3 separate regions of the Homo sapiens genome follow, and regions 2 and 3 are each linked to region 1. Evidence: promoter capture Hi-C in 16 types of primary human blood cells and fetal thymus (Javierre and others, 2016). All regions are on one chromosome and are shown on one strand. The core of a region is centred on a gene start or on the middle of the fragment in contact, and the rest is flanking DNA. Distances in the headings are between cores, read along the strand shown. Region 1 holds the start of NPR2 (natriuretic peptide receptor 2). Region 2 has its middle 17 kb from the start of OR13J1. Region 3 overlaps TMEM8B (transmembrane protein 8B).

Region 1 (5,138 bases), core at 2,639-5,138:
ATGCAGAATTTGAGTAAAGTCTCTATTTGCTTTCTATATACTTTGCTACATTTCTTTTTCTACATTACTTTCTCCTTTTCTATTGAGATGTGTTGTGAAGTGTATCTTTCCTGCCTTATTTGATCTACCTTTCTATGGCTGTTCTCTGCCCTCTGTTGGCAGGTTCTCTTGGACCTGTCCGTCTGTGTGCAGGGGACAATTGCATGGAGTCAAAGCCCATTTCTGCTAGTCAGGTCAGCAGAGAAGATATTTTGTTTTCTGGAATTCTGTAGGCCTGGGAGGCATGATCTGGTGTAGAACAAACCTGAGGATCCAGATTCAGCTGCACAAATAGGTTTGTTATAAAACGTTTAATGCTGTCAGTTTGGGGCATCAGAGCCTATCACGAAAATTAGCATGAGCCCGAATCCCATGGTGGTTGCAGAGCTCAACTAGGGTCTTGAGGCACCTTTGGCCTGAGTGTAACCAGGATTAGGATTTCTTTTGAAGAAGGGACAGGGCAGCTTGGAAACCATAGGAGATTCTAGCAGCTGGCCAATTTGATGCTCTGCAGTTTAGTTCTGGATCAGAAATAAGGTGTTTGGGGCCGGGCGTGGTGGCTTACGCCTGTAATCCCAGCACTTTGGGAATCTGAGGCGAGTGGATCACTTGAGGTCAGGAGTTCGAGACCAGCTGGCCAACATGGTGAAACGCTGTCTCTACTAAAAACAAAAATTAGCTGGGCATGGTGGCGGGCGCCTGTAATCCCAGCTACTTGGAAGGCTGAGGCAGGAGAATCACTTGAACCTGGGAGATGGAGGTTGCAGTGAGCCGAGATTGCGCCACTACATTCCAGCCTGAGTAACAGAGTGAGACTCTGTCTCAAAAAAAGAAAAAAAAAAAAAGAAAAAGAAAGAGGGTGTTGATTGACCCTATCCAGAAGAAATTATAGCTGGTATCTGTTTGTGGATTAGAAGAAGGCCATGACAGTGCTACAAAGAGAAAGTTGGACCCTAGCTGGTTGCTGCTTAGGCCAGTAGAATCTAGATTTCCTAGGTTTTCTATGTATTGCAGCATGGTCACCAAATACAGCCAAAATATTATTGCCCATATCAATGACAGCAGTGATAGCTTGGATAGTGGGATATATACATAACCGAAGTTCTCATTTATTTAATATTTTCAGCTTTCCCTCAAACATGAAAAAATAAACACCAAAAGCCTTTCACTGTGTGTTAATAAAAAACCTCATTAGGGGATTTATCTTTTATCTCCCCACTCCTTCCCACTTCCCTTTTGTCTTTTAAATTTTATTTTTAGTTTTTACTTATGTTTTCTTTTCCTTTCTTTCTTTCTTTTTTCTTTTGAGATGGAGTCTTGCTCTGTCGCACAGTGGCGCGATCTCTGCTCACTGCAATGTCCGCCTCCCAGATTCAAGCGGTTTTCCTGCCCCAGCCTCCCAAGTAGCTGGGATTACAGGTGCCCACCACCACGCCCAGCTAATTTTTGTGTTTTTAGTAGAGACGAGATTTCACCTTGTTGGCCAGCCTAGTCTCGAACTCCTGACCTCAAACAATCCTCCTACCTTGGCCTCCTAAAGTGCTGGGATTACAGGCGTGAGCCACTGCACCAGGCTCCTTCCACTTCCTTTTTTTTTTTTTTTTTTTTTGAGACAGGGTCTTGCTGTCACCCAGGCTGCCTCTATCCTCTGGGATCAAGCGATCCCCCCACCTCAGCCTCCCAAGTAGCTGGGACCACAGGTTCGTGCCACCATATCTGATTGATTTGTTTGGTTTTTAATAGAGATTATAGGCATTACAGGCAAGAGCCACCGTGCCTGGCCCCTTCCTACTTTCTAGTTAACTGGCCAACTGGGAGGAAAAGGGAAAGGCAAGATGCTTGAATGTTTAATCCCTAACATAATGAAGAATAGTCCTTAATGTTCAGAATAATGACATATGATGCACTTGTACTTGCGTAGGAGTCTGGGTGACAGTGGTGGCTGATCCTCACTGAGGGCTGCAGGTGTTCCAGAGAGACTTGCCTGGGTTTGGTGGCTATTATATTGTAAGCACAGCTTTCTACAGTAAGTTCCATGAGTCAGCAAAATATCTATAAAGAGCCTCTCCTTGGAGACCATGAAACCTGCATTTTAATCTCTCTTTTGCAACTAAAAAGCCATGTGGGATTGGGGGAGAGGAGCAAGTAAGGACACTGCGACCTTCCTCTCTGGGATTTGGTTTTCAATTATCTTTAAATGAGAGGGCTAAACAATATATTTATATGATCCTCTTAGCCCTGCCATTCTGTAATTCTTTCAGGAATTTTGTCATTTTGGATTTGCTTGTCTCATAAAACAATGTGTAGTTGCTTAAAAATCAACTATTCTATTTGGTTGACTTGGTCTAAAGTATTTCTCATGTTGTCTCGTCATTCTTTTGACTGTTCCTTTTTTTTTTTTTTGCCTTGGCCAGATAGGACAAAATTCCTTTTCACTGCAGTATTGGGAGCCTGGAACTAGAGTTACCAACCCCTCTGCGTTAAAGAAGGAGCTGTCCTGAGGCTTCCATCTCTACTGGGCTTGAGGCAAGAACATTGTTAGGGACGGCCTGCTCTTGGCCTCTGTGCCCCAGGGATTGCAAATGCATGTTCCTCAAAGGTAAGGGCTGTATCATTCGGCTTTCTTTGTATTCACAGGTACAGCTTGTGCTAGGCAGCCGGTGTTCAATAAATATCGTGCCTAAGGATAAAGTGGCATTGTCCTTAATTTCCCCCACCAAACCACTAGGTGTCGCCTTCATCTCAGGGAAACCATGCCCGTCCTCGCCCTATACACTCCCACCCCACTCCAGGGCTCCAGGAGCGCTCTTAGCTTGTGATTTCTGGAGAAATAGCTTGAAGGGGGGAGAGAAACCGTGGCTCTTAGCGCGGGCAGAGAATGGGCTTATGTGCATGTCCTTTATGACAGTTGGAGAAAAATCCCCAAGGTCCCATAGCAGTCCCTCTCAGCCACCATGAGATCATCCCTCACAAGCTGTTCTTGGGGTCAGATTGGCACTCCAGATATGAGGGCCCTAGGGAGAGCTTCCTAAGGGAAGCTGGGAGCAAGGTGGAACCCCAGGAGAGCGTGGATGGGCTTCCACTGCGGGGAGTGTCCCGCCGGTCCGTTACAGGCTTTCCCCAGGCGCCAGCCTGCGCTGTGCAGGAGACAAAAGAAAATCGAGGCCCTGACTGAGCAGATGGTGCGGAGGAAGCCGGGCGGGCTGCGGTGGGCCTCTGAGGACACGAGGAGGGCAGGGGGCATGGAGACAGCGGGGGGCCGAGAGTTGAGTCCCAAGCAAGAAGGAGCCTCGTGGACTTTCTAAGGACTGGTGGGAAGTGTACAGCAGGGGCCCCTGGCTGCTGGAGGGGCCCGTCCAGGGAGCGGGCATGGTCCGCGGTGGAGTAAGCCGCACTGCCGTCGGGAGGGCGCTATGGTTTGCTAGGTGAGGGGGCTGGTGAGGATACCACACGTCTGGGGATCCTCGACTGCTTCCTGGAGACTGGAACCACTGAGGGACTCAGGGAGTTCAGAGGGGAGACCCAAGAAGAACGGGCTGAGCGAGGGGGAGAGGACAAACCCTGGGGTCGCTGGCGTGTGTGAGATGGAAATGGAAGGAGGGGCGGCAGGGGGACCAGGGGCGTGGGGGAGACCAGGGTAGGCCCTGAGAGTGAGGGAGCGCCCGGGAACCCTGCTGGCCGGCGAGGCCTTGGTGCGGAGCCCCCAAGTGCTCACCGGGGTGGGTTTGGGACCTGGCGGTCCCGAGCGCCCGGGTGGGGGGTGGGGGAAGGCAGCCGGCGCCGGAGGGTGGGGCCGGGAGGGAGGAGGAGAGGCAGCGGGGGAGGGGCGGGGGCGGGCGGCCTGCCCGGGGGAGTCGCACTCGGCCGCCGGCGCAGCGAGCGGAGACGGGCCGGGCCGAGGCGACCTGACCCGGACGAGCGGCGCGCGCGGGGCCCAGGCGGGGGGCGGGAGGAAGCGCCGGGCAGCGCCGGCCGCCAGGGCCCAGGAGAAGCGGAGCAGAGAGGAGCGGGGACACGGGCGGGGCCGCCGTAGCTCCGGATGGGACCAGCGCCCGGGCCCGTTAGTCCAAGCAGGAGCTCCGGGAGAATCCTTCACAGGGAGATTTACCCCTGCCTTCCCCTGCCCTCCGGCCCAGGCCTCGCTTCGCTCCCCGCCTGCCCATGATCCCAGTCCTTCCGCGGCGCGGGCACCCTCCCACCTTACCCCCTTGGTCCTATGTGGCGCAGCGCCCTCCTGCCCTCCCGGCCCTTTCAGCTGTGAGGTTCCCCCAGGCCGTTTCTTTGTACCACCCGCCCCCCACCCCCACCCCATCCCAGTCCCAGATCCCCTTTTCCTTCTCAGCTTTAGATTTATCAGGCTTCTTCACCTCGCACTGTCCCCATCCTGGCCGCAGGCCCCCTCGGTCCCTCCCTCCCCCTGCCACCCCGTTCTCAGTCCTCAGTCCTTGCCCTAGGCTGGTAGCCCACTCCTTGCCCGCCCCCCGCCTTCCTCCCATCTCCCCCTCCTCTCCCCGGCCCCCAGCACCTTCTGCATCCCAGCCTACCTAGCCTACTCCTCCTCTTCCTGGCCCTCTTCCCCAGGCTCCAGGCTGGGGGGTGCTCGCGTCTCCCCTGTAGGCCAGAGCAGCCCCAAGTTCTGGGGGCGGTGGGGCTGCTGCTTTATCCCCATGGCGCTGCCATCACTTCTGCTGTTGGTGGCAGCCCTGGCAGGTGGGGTGCGTCCTCCCGGGGCGCGGAACCTGACGCTGGCGGTGGTGCTGCCAGAACACAACCTGAGCTATGCCTGGGCCTGGCCACGGGTGGGACCCGCTGTGGCACTAGCTGTGGAGGCTCTGGGCCGGGCACTGCCCGTGGACCTGCGGTTTGTCAGCTCCGAACTGGAAGGCGCCTGCTCTGAGTACCTGGCACCGCTGAGCGCTGTGGACCTCAAGCTGTACCATGACCCCGACCTGCTGTTAGGTCCCGGTTGCGTGTACCCTGCTGCCTCTGTGGCCCGCTTTGCCTCCCACTGGCGCCTTCCCCTGCTGACTGCGGGTGCTGTGGCCTCTGGTTTTTCGGCTAAGAATGACCATTATCGTACCCTGGTTCGCACTGGCCCC
Region 2 (5,138 bases), core at 798-3,297, 96 kb after region 1:
AATGCTTTCAAGTATCTTTTATTTATTTATTTATTTATTTATTTATTTATTTATTTATTTATTTATTTGACACAGGGTCTTGCTCTTTCACCCAGGCTGGAGTACAGTGGCATGATCATGGTTCATTGTAGCTTTGATTTCCCGGGCTCAAGTGATCCTCCTGTCTCAGCTTCCTGAGTAGCAGCAGGGACTACAGACACACACTATCAAGCCCCAATAATTAAAAAAAAAATGTTTTTGGTAGAGACAGGGTCTCATCATGTTGTTCAGGCTGGTCTTGAACTCCTGGGCTCAAGGGATTCTTCCATCTTAGCCTCCCAAAGTGCTGGGATTACAGGCATGAGCCAGCATGCCCAGCTGCAAATATCAATATTAAGAATGATGTTTGATTTTAGATATTCTTTATTGGATTAAGAAAGTTTCTTTCTATTCCTAATTTGCTAAGCATTTTTTACAAATGTAATTTAATTGTTAAGTTAAAATTTATTTTTAATAGTCTGTTCATTTTTGCGGCACAATATTCAAAAGGCAGAAAAGGATATGTAGACAAACTCTCCCTTCCACTCATGTCACCTCATAACCTAGTTCTCTGCTCTGGACACTGTAACGAGGGTCATCTCACACACACACACACACACACACACACACACACACATTCCCCCTTTATTTTTCACCCAAATGAAGACATAATATATTACTGTTCTTCATTTGGTTTTTTTTCTCTAAGAGTTTTAAAATCAAAAATGAATGTTAAATTTTGTCCAATAGTCTTCACATCTATTGGGATGATAATATAGTCTTTCTTCTTTATTGTTTTAATATGATGAATTATGTCAATTGATTTTCTAATGGTAAATCACCCTTGTATTACCAGAAGAAATCTGGCTTTGTCATGATTTAGAAGGTTTTCCATACACGCCTGGATTTAATTTGTTAATATGTTTTCAGGATTTACATATATATTCATAAAGGATGTTGTGTCATAATTTTCCTTTTCTATAGGGTCTGGTCAGGTTTTGGTTTCAAGGTTATGCTAGCTTATAATATTTTTCTATACTGGGATAGTTTGTGCAAGTTGGACCTATTTGCAACTAGTCTTCACCTTGTGGGAGGATTTTAACTACTGACAATTTTTTAAATGGTTATAAGTTTTCTATCATATCACAAATCAGTTTAGGCAAATTACGTATTTTTAGGACTTTTTCTACTTCATCTAGGTTTTCAAGTTAATTTGTTATATTTTCTTTTTTGTTTTTTTTGGGAACAGCTTTATTAGATATACCATACAATTCAGCCATTTTAAGTGTACAATTCAGGGCTGGTCGCAGTGGGTCACACCTGTAATCCCAGCACTTTGGAAGGCTGAGGTGGGCAGATCACCTGAGATCAGGAGTTCGAGACCAGCCTGGCCAACATGGTGAAACCCTGTCTCTATGAAAAACACAAAAATTAGCCAGGCATGGTGGTCTGTAATCCCAGCTCAGGAGGCTGAGGGGGGAAAAATCACATGAATCGGGCAGGCGGAGGTTGCAGTGAGCCAAGACTGCGCCATTGCACTCCAACCTGGGCAACAGAGTGAGACCCTGTCTCAAAAACAAACAAACAAACAAACAAATAAATAAAGAGTGTAATTCATAGGCTTTTAGCATATACACAGAGTCGAACTGCCATCACCACAAGCAATTTTAGAACATTTTCATCACCTCAAAAAGAAATCTGGTACCCTGTAGCTATCCTCCTGTGCCCCCATCCTCCAATCCCTAAGCAACCACTAACCTACTTTCTGATCCTACAAATTTGCCTATTCTTCACGTTTCATATAAATGTAATCATATAATATATGATTTTTTGTAACTGATTTTCTACTTAGCATGCTGTTTTTAAGGTTCATCTATGTTCTAGCATGTATCAATACTTCATTCCTTTTATGGCTGAATAATGTTTCATTGTCCGGCTATACTACATTTTATTTATCTATTTATCAGTTGATAGATATCTGGGTTGTCTCCACCTTTTAGCAATTACAAATAGTGCTGCTATAAATATTTGTGTACAAGTCTTTGTGTGAACATAGATTTTCATTTTTCATTTCTCTTGGTGTATATCTAGGAGTGGAATTGTTGGGCCATGTGGTAACTCTATGTTTAACCTTTTGAGGAACTGCCAGGCTGTTTTCCAAAGCAGCTGCACAATTTTACATTCCCACCAGGAGAGTATGAGGTTTCTGACTTGTCCACATCCTTGTGAATACTTACTACTACCTGACTTTTTGATTTTAGTCATCCTAATGGGTGTGAAGTGGTATCTCATTGTGGCTTTGATTTGCAACCAGATGCTTAATGACGTTGAACATCTTATCATGTGCTTATTGGTCATTTTTATATCTTCTTTGAAGAAATGTCTATTCAAGTTCTTTGCCTATTTTTAAGTTGGGTTGTTTGTCTTCTTATTAATGAGTTGTAAGAGTTATATATTCTACATATAAGCCCCTTATCAGATATATTATTTGCAAATATTTTCTTCCATTCTTTGAATTCTCTTCTCACTTTTTTTTTTTTTTTTTTTTTGAGACAGAGTCTCACTCTGTTGCCCAGGCTGGAGTGCAGTGGCACAATCTTGGCTGACTGCAATCTCCACCTGCCGGGTTCAAGCGATTCTTGTGCCTCAGCCTCCCAAGTAGCTGGGATTACAGGCACATGCCACCTCGCCTGGCTAATTTTTGTATTTTTAGTAGAGATGGGATTTCACCATGTTGCCCAGGCTGGTCTTGAATTCCTGACCTTCAGCCTCCCAGAATATCCCTTCCTGGGATTACAGACGTGAGCCACCATGCCCGGCCTCTTCTCACTTCTTAATGGTGTATTTGGAGCACAAAACTTTATTTTATTTTTATTTTTATTTATTTATTTATTTTTTGAGACAGAGTCTCGCTCTTTCGCCCAGGCCGGAGTGCAGTGGCACTATCTCGGCTCACTGCAAGCTCCGCCTCCCGGGTTCATGCCATTCCTCTGCCTCAGCCTCCCGAGTAGCTGGGACTACAGGCCCACGCCACCGCGCCCGGCTAATTTTTTGTATTTTTAGTAGAGACGGGGTTTCACCGTGTTAGCCAGGATGGTCTCGACCTCCTGACCTCGTGATCTGCCTGCCTCGGCCTCCGAAAGTGCTGGGATTACAGGCGTGAGCCACAGCGCCCGGCCAAAACTTTATTTTTAATGAAGTCCAATTTATCTAGTTTTTCTTTTATTGCTTGTGTATTTGCTATCATATTTAAGATTCCATTGCCAAAGTCAAGAGCATAAAGATGTATGCTTATGTTTTATTCCCAGAATTTTATAGTTTTAGCTATTACATTTAGATCTTCGATCTATTTTTGTATTTGGCGTATGGTAAGTGTCCAACTTTATTCTTTGCATTTGGATATCCAGGTGTCCAAGCACCATTTGTTGAAAACACTATTCTTTTTCCATTAAATGTTCTTGGTATCTGCTTCTAATTTTTTGCAGAGTTTGTGAAACATTCATATTAATGCTTTAAATGTTTGGTAAAATTCACCAGTGAAGCTATGTGGGCCTGTGCTTTTCTTTGTAGGGTAGTTTTTAAAATTACTAATCTAATCTCTTTATAGGTCTATTTAGATTTTTAATTTATTCTTGAGTCAGTTTTGGTAATTTCTGCCTTCCTAGAAAGTTGTCCATTTCATCTAAGTTATCTATTTTTTTGGCACACATTTGTTATAGTGTTTTTTATAATTTTTTTTTTATATGTGTAAGATTGGTAGTGATGTCTCTCATTTCTGGTTCTAGTAATTTGAGTCTTTTCTCTTTTTTTTCTTGGTTAATCTAGCTAAAGATTTGAAATTTAGTTGACTTTTTAAAATATCCAACTTGGCGGGGCACGGTGACTCACGCCTGTAACCCCAGCACTTTGGGAGGCTGAGGTCAGGAGTTTGAGACCAGCCTGGCCAATATGGCAAAACCCCGTCTCTACTAATAATACAAAAATTAGCTGGGCATGGTCGTGTAGGCCTATAGTCCCAGCTCCTCAGGAGGCTGAGGTGGGAGGATTACTTGAGCCTGGGAGGTGGAGGTTACAGTAAACCGAGATTGTGCCACTGTGCTCCAGCCTGGGTGACAGAGTGAGACCCTGTCTCAAAAAAAAAAAAAAAAAAAGAAAGAAAAGAAAAAAAATCCAACTTGTGGTTTTGTTAATTTTCTCTAGTTTTTCTATTCTCTATTTCATTAGTTTCTACTCCAATGTTTGTTATTTCCTTACTTCCTCTTGCTGTATCTTTTCATTTGTTTTAAAATATATGAAGTATCTGTGATATCCTTTTTAAAAATTTTTATTTGTGCTTTCACTGTTTTTGTTTCTTTCCTTTCCTTTTTTATTTTATTTTATTTATTTTCTTCCTTTTGAGACAGGGTCTTGCTCTCTCACCCAGGCTGTAGTGCAGTGGCATGATCACAGTTCACTGCAAACTCAAACTCCTGGGCTTAAATGATCCTCCTGCCCCTGCCTCCCTAGTAGTTGAGACAGCAGGCAGGTGCCACCATGCCTGGCTAATTAAAAAAAATTTTTTTTTAAATTTTTTGTGAAGATGGGGTTTCACTATGTTGCCTAGGCTGGTCTTGAACTATTGGGCTCAGGTGATTCTCCCACCTCTATCTCCCAAGATGCTGGTATTATCAGTGTGAGCCACTGTGCCTGGTTTCTTTTTGTTTCTTAATAAATATTTCCCAAACTTTCTTAATTCTATTAGGCTTTTCAAAGAATCAATTTTTGGTTCTGTTAACTACCCTTATTTTAATTATTTCCTTTCTTTTATTTTCCTGTATTTATTCTGTTGGTCTTTTTTCAATTTTTAAACTCATTAAATCCTAGACTTTCTTTTTTCCTAATATAAATGGTCATTTCATTTAATTTTAATTTTATGAGCTTTGACATATAGTATTTTGTTTCTGTCAGGTTCCAAGTAATTTCTAATTTCCATTATTACTTCTTTTAATTATTTCAGAAGTATTTTTCTTAATTTCTCAATGAATAATATTTTTGTGTAAACCTTTTAATTTTTAAAATTGATTTTAGCTGAATTTCTAATGTAATTTCCTTGTGGTCAGAGAATGTGGTTTGTATGATAT
Region 3 (5,138 bases), core at 1,022-3,521, 71 kb after region 1:
CTGCTCTCCCCAGGATGGGGTCAGAGGAGACAGCAGAGAAAGATTCATGTTTAAAATGATCGTTTGGAATCCAAAGTGTTTTTGGTCATTAACAGGAAGCATCTTTTCTACATTACGGTTTCATGTGACCAAATTATGGCCATAGTATTTCAGATTTATTCATCCACTAAGTATTTATTAAGTACCTATTCTGTGCTAGGTATCAGGTGCTGGGGCTATAGCAGTAAGGAAAGTAAGTGGACAAAAGGATTCCACACCTGTCACAGGCGCTGCCCCACTCCCTGAGTCAGGTGAGATGAGCTCCGGAAGGCAGGTGGGTAATGGATGATGCTCACCTAGTGTTCCTTGGGCCATGAAGATCAAATATTTCAGCCCCATAGGATGTGTAAGCTTGATTTCTGGTCATCTCTCCTTAAGGAATCATGGACCATTCATTATTTTGTTTAAAAGGACACATAAGAACGTACATGTCTCAATAGAGTTACTGGTCACAGGACTGAACTGTGGTCATGAAAGCCAAGCAACTTACTTTCTGGCCTCCATATTGCTTTGTAGGAGAAATGATACTGACAATGATGTCACACGAGGAGGGAAGCCAGGCACGAATCTGGTGGAGGTGCGGTCAGTTGTGACCAGCTTTGCAAAGGGAGCGGTGGGCGAGGCTGTGGTCTCTCCCAGGTGACCTCCATCGCCATGCAGAGCTGCTCTCACTTCTCCTCGGGAAAGGCCAGCGTCAGGTATTCCTAGGAGGAAGCCCAGGTGTGTCCAGAGAACAGTAGTCTTGTTAGAACTGGAAAAATGTCTTATGGCCAGGTGGCCCCTGGTCTGAAGGAAAAATAGGAGCTGAGTGTGAACTTTTATCACTCAGAAGATATAATCCACCTCTCCCCTCCTGCCCTTCGCTCCTGGGTTGGTTGTGAGGACAGTGCTTTGTGACAGCAGTGGAGCCCTGTCTGTCCTTCCGGGCTAGATTTCTTCTTTCTCTTATTCCTCCTGTTTCGTTGTATCCACGATTTGTCGAGTTGCAGGGCTCACCCTTTCCTGAAGAAACCATCTCTTTTCCCAGCTCCGCACCTTTGTCCGAGATGGAGGCGTGTCCTCCCGCCCATCCCCAGTGGGGGGTGTTCTGCCCATTCTCCAGAGCCCAGCACTGCTCCATCTCTTTTCCTCCCTCTCCTTCCCCTTGCTGTTACCTGCTGCCTTCTTGTGCTCCCACTGCCCTTGGCCATCCCTCTGTGTCATTGTGCGCTGTGGTGCACCTGTCTTCTCTACTACACCTTAAGAGCAGGACTCTGCCTCCTTCCTACCAGCACCTCATGCAGCAAGTGCTGCCAATAGCAGGCACCCAGCAGATAGCGAATGCACGACTCCAAAACCCAGCTTTGCCTCCTGGCTGTAGTTCAGACTAGCTGTGTGACACTGACCAAGACACTTGACCTCTCTCAGACTCAGCTTCCTCCTTGAAGACTGGGATGCTATGTAGCTCAGAGGAAACATACACCTGAAGGTGCTGCCCCGGGGGGTGCAATGACCTGTTACTGAGGCTGGATGGAGGATGGCATCCATCATCAGCTACAGGTGCCTCCTCTATCTACAGGTTCCTGCTCCATCTATACTAGCCACCTCCTGGACAAGGGCTCCAGTGTCCTCCATGACACCAGCTTTCTCCAGAGCCTGTGCAGGATTTCCTTCCTCTACCCTGAATCAGGGTGATTCTTAAAGGACAGTTTCAGGAACATATAGGGGCACTTGGGTAATCTTGGTCAGTAACTGACCTTTAACTATCATCCATGTGAACATCTACAGTTAGGGATTTTCTTGGTGATGTTTGGCAAAAAGTAAAGAATTCCCCAAGTGTGAAGCCTCATTCATTCACTTATTCAACAAATAGTTATTGAGCACCTACTATGTGTTAGGCCCTGGGCCAGGTGCTGGGAATACAGCAGAGACAGACCTGGCTCCTGCCCTCATGGAGTTTGCAGTCATTCATTCACTCACTCGGTGACTTTGGACACCTCCCCCTCCTCTCTCCAGGCTTTAGATCTCTGAGATTCTCTCTGAGTCTGGGATGTAAAGACAAAGTAAAACCTGAAATCTGGAAAGCAGAACTATAAGAGCTTTGTTTCTGATGGGGGTGTTGCTGCAGACAGAACTATGTCCATCTCAAATTCTGACACTGGACACAGGCGTGGGGGTTTCAAGCAGGCCAAGGGTGGGAAACCACCTGACTGCATTTTTCTTTATCACTCACACCTCTAACAGTAAGACCAAGTGGGCCTGGCGGAGGCATTTGAGGGCTTTTGTGTGTGCAGGCTCTGGCCCGTCCTCCTGCCTTGCCTCCACCGCATCCCTCATGCACACCTGCTGCAGCCTCATCAGACCACTCCCTGTCTTTTGGACAAAGCCTGTGTGCTCCAGTCCCATCCCTCTTCTTGGGCAGTTTCTTCAGGCTGGAGTGCCTTTCTTTTCTACTCATCCTTCAAGGCTCAGTTCACACACCACTGTCTCGTGCAGCCTTCTCTCAGATGGCTTCATAAAACTGACCACCCGGACAACAAGATGGTCACACAGCTATTAGTGGAGGTTAAGTTCATTCTGCCTTCATTATAGTTCATTTTTCTTGTATATCTCTCTCTGACTAGACTATGAGCTATTGCAGTGAAAGGGCTGTGTCCTTCATCACTGTCACCCTCCAGTGACCCGCAGCCAGGAGGTGTCAGTGATTGCCATTTGAGTTGAACTATTTATTGACATCCAGTGTTGTTCTGCCAAAAATCCTGATCCTAGGCATGGTGGTTTGCACCTGTGGTCACAGCTACTCAGAAGGCTGAGGTGGGAGGAGTACTTGAGCCCAGGAGTTCGAGGTTACAGTGAACTATGATTGTGCCACTGCACTCCAGCCTGGGCAACAGAGTGAGGCCCTTTCTCTAAAAAAGCAAACGAAGAACGCTGAACCCAAGGTCTTGCCTCAAAATCAATTCCCCCTTCCCCCTCCAACACATACACCGCAACAGAATGATACAGCTATTGTGATTGCTAGGAGAAGGGCTTTGGGCAGTGCCAGTCTCCTGTTTGCAGTAACACCTGCTCTTTCTGAAGAGCTACATCAGTAACATGGTGGGTTTTCCTCACAACTTAAAAGTCTGATCGTAACACATTCATGGAAACTAGAACCAGCACACGAAACCATTGGCTTGTGGCCCTAAAGAAATAACTCTGTGTCCAGAAAATGCCATGTTACCAGGTTGCCTACAGCTTTGCCTGTAACATGGGCACAGGCTGGGACATCAGATAGAAGCTGGTTCCCATGGTGGCTGGGTTGGGATGGGCTAAGTTATGTTGCAGTAACGTACAACCTCATCATTTTAGTGGCTAGCATGACGAAGTTTTATTTCTCATGCTACATGTCTACTGTGGCTTTCCCGGTGGCTCAGGGTTCTCAGAGCCCCTGGCAGATGGAGGCTCCACCCTGTGGGACGTCACCAGTTGTTATGGCTGGGGAAGGACACACTGGAGGCTCTTGCTGCTCTGAGCCACAGGAGACATTTGTCATATCTGCACACAGCCCACTGGCCCTGCGGCATCCTACCACCTGCCCAGAAGGAGGAGAACCAGAATTACTGCTGAGCAGCTCCTCTGCATGTGGGTGCAATGGCGTCTTATGACTCTCAGAAAGCTACTCTAGTGGCCATCTACCAGTGTCACGCAGTGTCACGCTCGGTCATGGCCTGGAAGATCAGAGTCACAGAGGGATAGGACCTGGAGTGTCTCTGAAAATAGCTGCCTGGTTTCACTCCCCGGTTTTACGCCTCTTGAGAAGCAGAGTGATGCCTAGAATGAGCCCTGGACTGGGAGGGCACGTCCCAGGTTTGAATCGGGGCCTTTGTTCCTTTTCTGCTGTATGACTTTGGTCAGATTTCTCCTTCTGAGAAGTGGAGCCAATTAAGCGATCTCCGATATGCTGTAATCTCTGAAACATTTCCTCATATGTTTCTAGCAACTTCCAACCTGAGGTCTGATAGACCCAGGGTTACTTTGCAAGCTAACTGACATATCAGTCTCATTGTCTGGTAAATCTAATTTTAACCACTTAATACTTATTTTAGGCTTCACAAATTATTTTAAAAGAAAAGATAGGGGCATAACAAGAAGAAAGCTTCGGTTACAATTTCCCCGAAATGCCTGGATCTGGGATTCCTGCTTCCTGGCTGTGTGGCAGAGAAGATGAGGATGGCCCTGGAGTCAGACGGGACTAGGGTCCAAGCCCCAGCTCTTCCACTTGTTAACAATGTTCTCAGCCTCAGCTTCCTTACCTATACCATGGAGACGGCAGTATTTCCTTGTGGGCTTGTTTTAAGGATCCAGTGACAGGAAGCATGCGAAGCTCTTAGAACAGAGCCTGGCACTGGTAAATAGTCAGTGAGCAGTAGATGATATTATTACCATCCTGTCCCTATCCCTGTCCCCCAGCAAATATTTTGGCTTTTAAATGTTTTAAATGATTTCTTGAGAATAAGCAATGGGTCAGATGAAATCTCCTTACCTCTCACCTACTGGCCATGGCCTAAATGTCTGTAGGGAGCTGGAGCCAGGTGAGGGGAGCTGTGGTTTGGGAAGTGCCGAGTTCATTATGAGCAAGTGCACGGTGCTGGGATGGGCTAGGTTCCCCGCACCTCGCCCTGCCACTGCCTCCCAGGACCTGCCTCTTGCTCCCCTGCCACATAGACAGTCTGCTTGCCCCCTGCTTTCAGGGACCTCATGGTCCCTGCCCAATTTAAAGTTCAAACTCTGCAACTGCACAAAGTTGCAGGCTTGGCAGCTGTGGGACCTGGGCTTCAGAGACTCCAGGTTCCTCGGCCTGCCCCAGGAGGGCCCTGCTGAGGTGAAGTGGGCATAGGAGAGAGAGTGGACAGAGAATCTGAATACTGGGTCACGTTGCAGTTCTGCGCCTTGGATGCCATAGGCTCCAGGCCCATAAGCCCGGCTTCACTAGGCCTGGGTGTCTGGGTTGTGAAATGGGGTGTCTCCTTCCAGGATTGCCGTAAGGACCTGGATTCATCAAAGCTTAAAGTAAATTGCTTTGTAAGGTGGGAGACACCGAGTACAGGCGAGGGACTTTATTAGGTCAGGGATTTAAT

Evidence for each region. Contacts are between HindIII fragments. The CHiCAGO score rates a contact against its expected background, and 5 or more counts as called.
Region 2: a contact is called between a fragment that was not itself captured here and the fragment with the promoter of NPR2 in region 1, in 13 of 17 cell types (neutrophils, naive B cells, naive CD4 T cells and 10 more). The highest score is 9.9, in neutrophils.
Region 3: a contact is called between a fragment that was not itself captured here and the fragment with the promoter of NPR2 in region 1, in 4 of 17 cell types (neutrophils, naive B cells, activated CD4 T cells and 1 more). The highest score is 6.3, in neutrophils.

Annotation. Positions count from the first base shown.
Region 1 is chr9:35,787,703-35,792,840 of GRCh38, forward strand. It overlaps NPR2 (natriuretic peptide receptor 2), which reads left to right and starts at 3,889. Exons shown (of 22, transcript NM_003995.4): 1 at 3,889-5,138. The coding sequence starts at 4,707. It also overlaps a transcript of RGP1 not described here. The HindIII fragment of the contact is 14,834 bases long and covers 1-5,138 here.
Region 2 is chr9:35,885,082-35,890,219 of GRCh38, forward strand. No RefSeq gene overlaps it. Among named protein-coding and RNA genes, the nearest start is that of OR13J1, 17 kb to the left of the region's middle. The HindIII fragment of the contact is 8,845 bases long and covers 1-5,138 here.
Region 3 is chr9:35,860,226-35,865,363 of GRCh38, forward strand. It overlaps TMEM8B (transmembrane protein 8B), which reads left to right. Exons shown (of 13, transcript NM_001042590.4): 13 at 1-5,138. Among named protein-coding and RNA genes, the nearest start is that of OR13J1, 7.6 kb to the right of the region's middle. RefSeq lists an enhancer at 4,791-5,138. The HindIII fragment of the contact is 3,766 bases long and covers 389-4,154 here.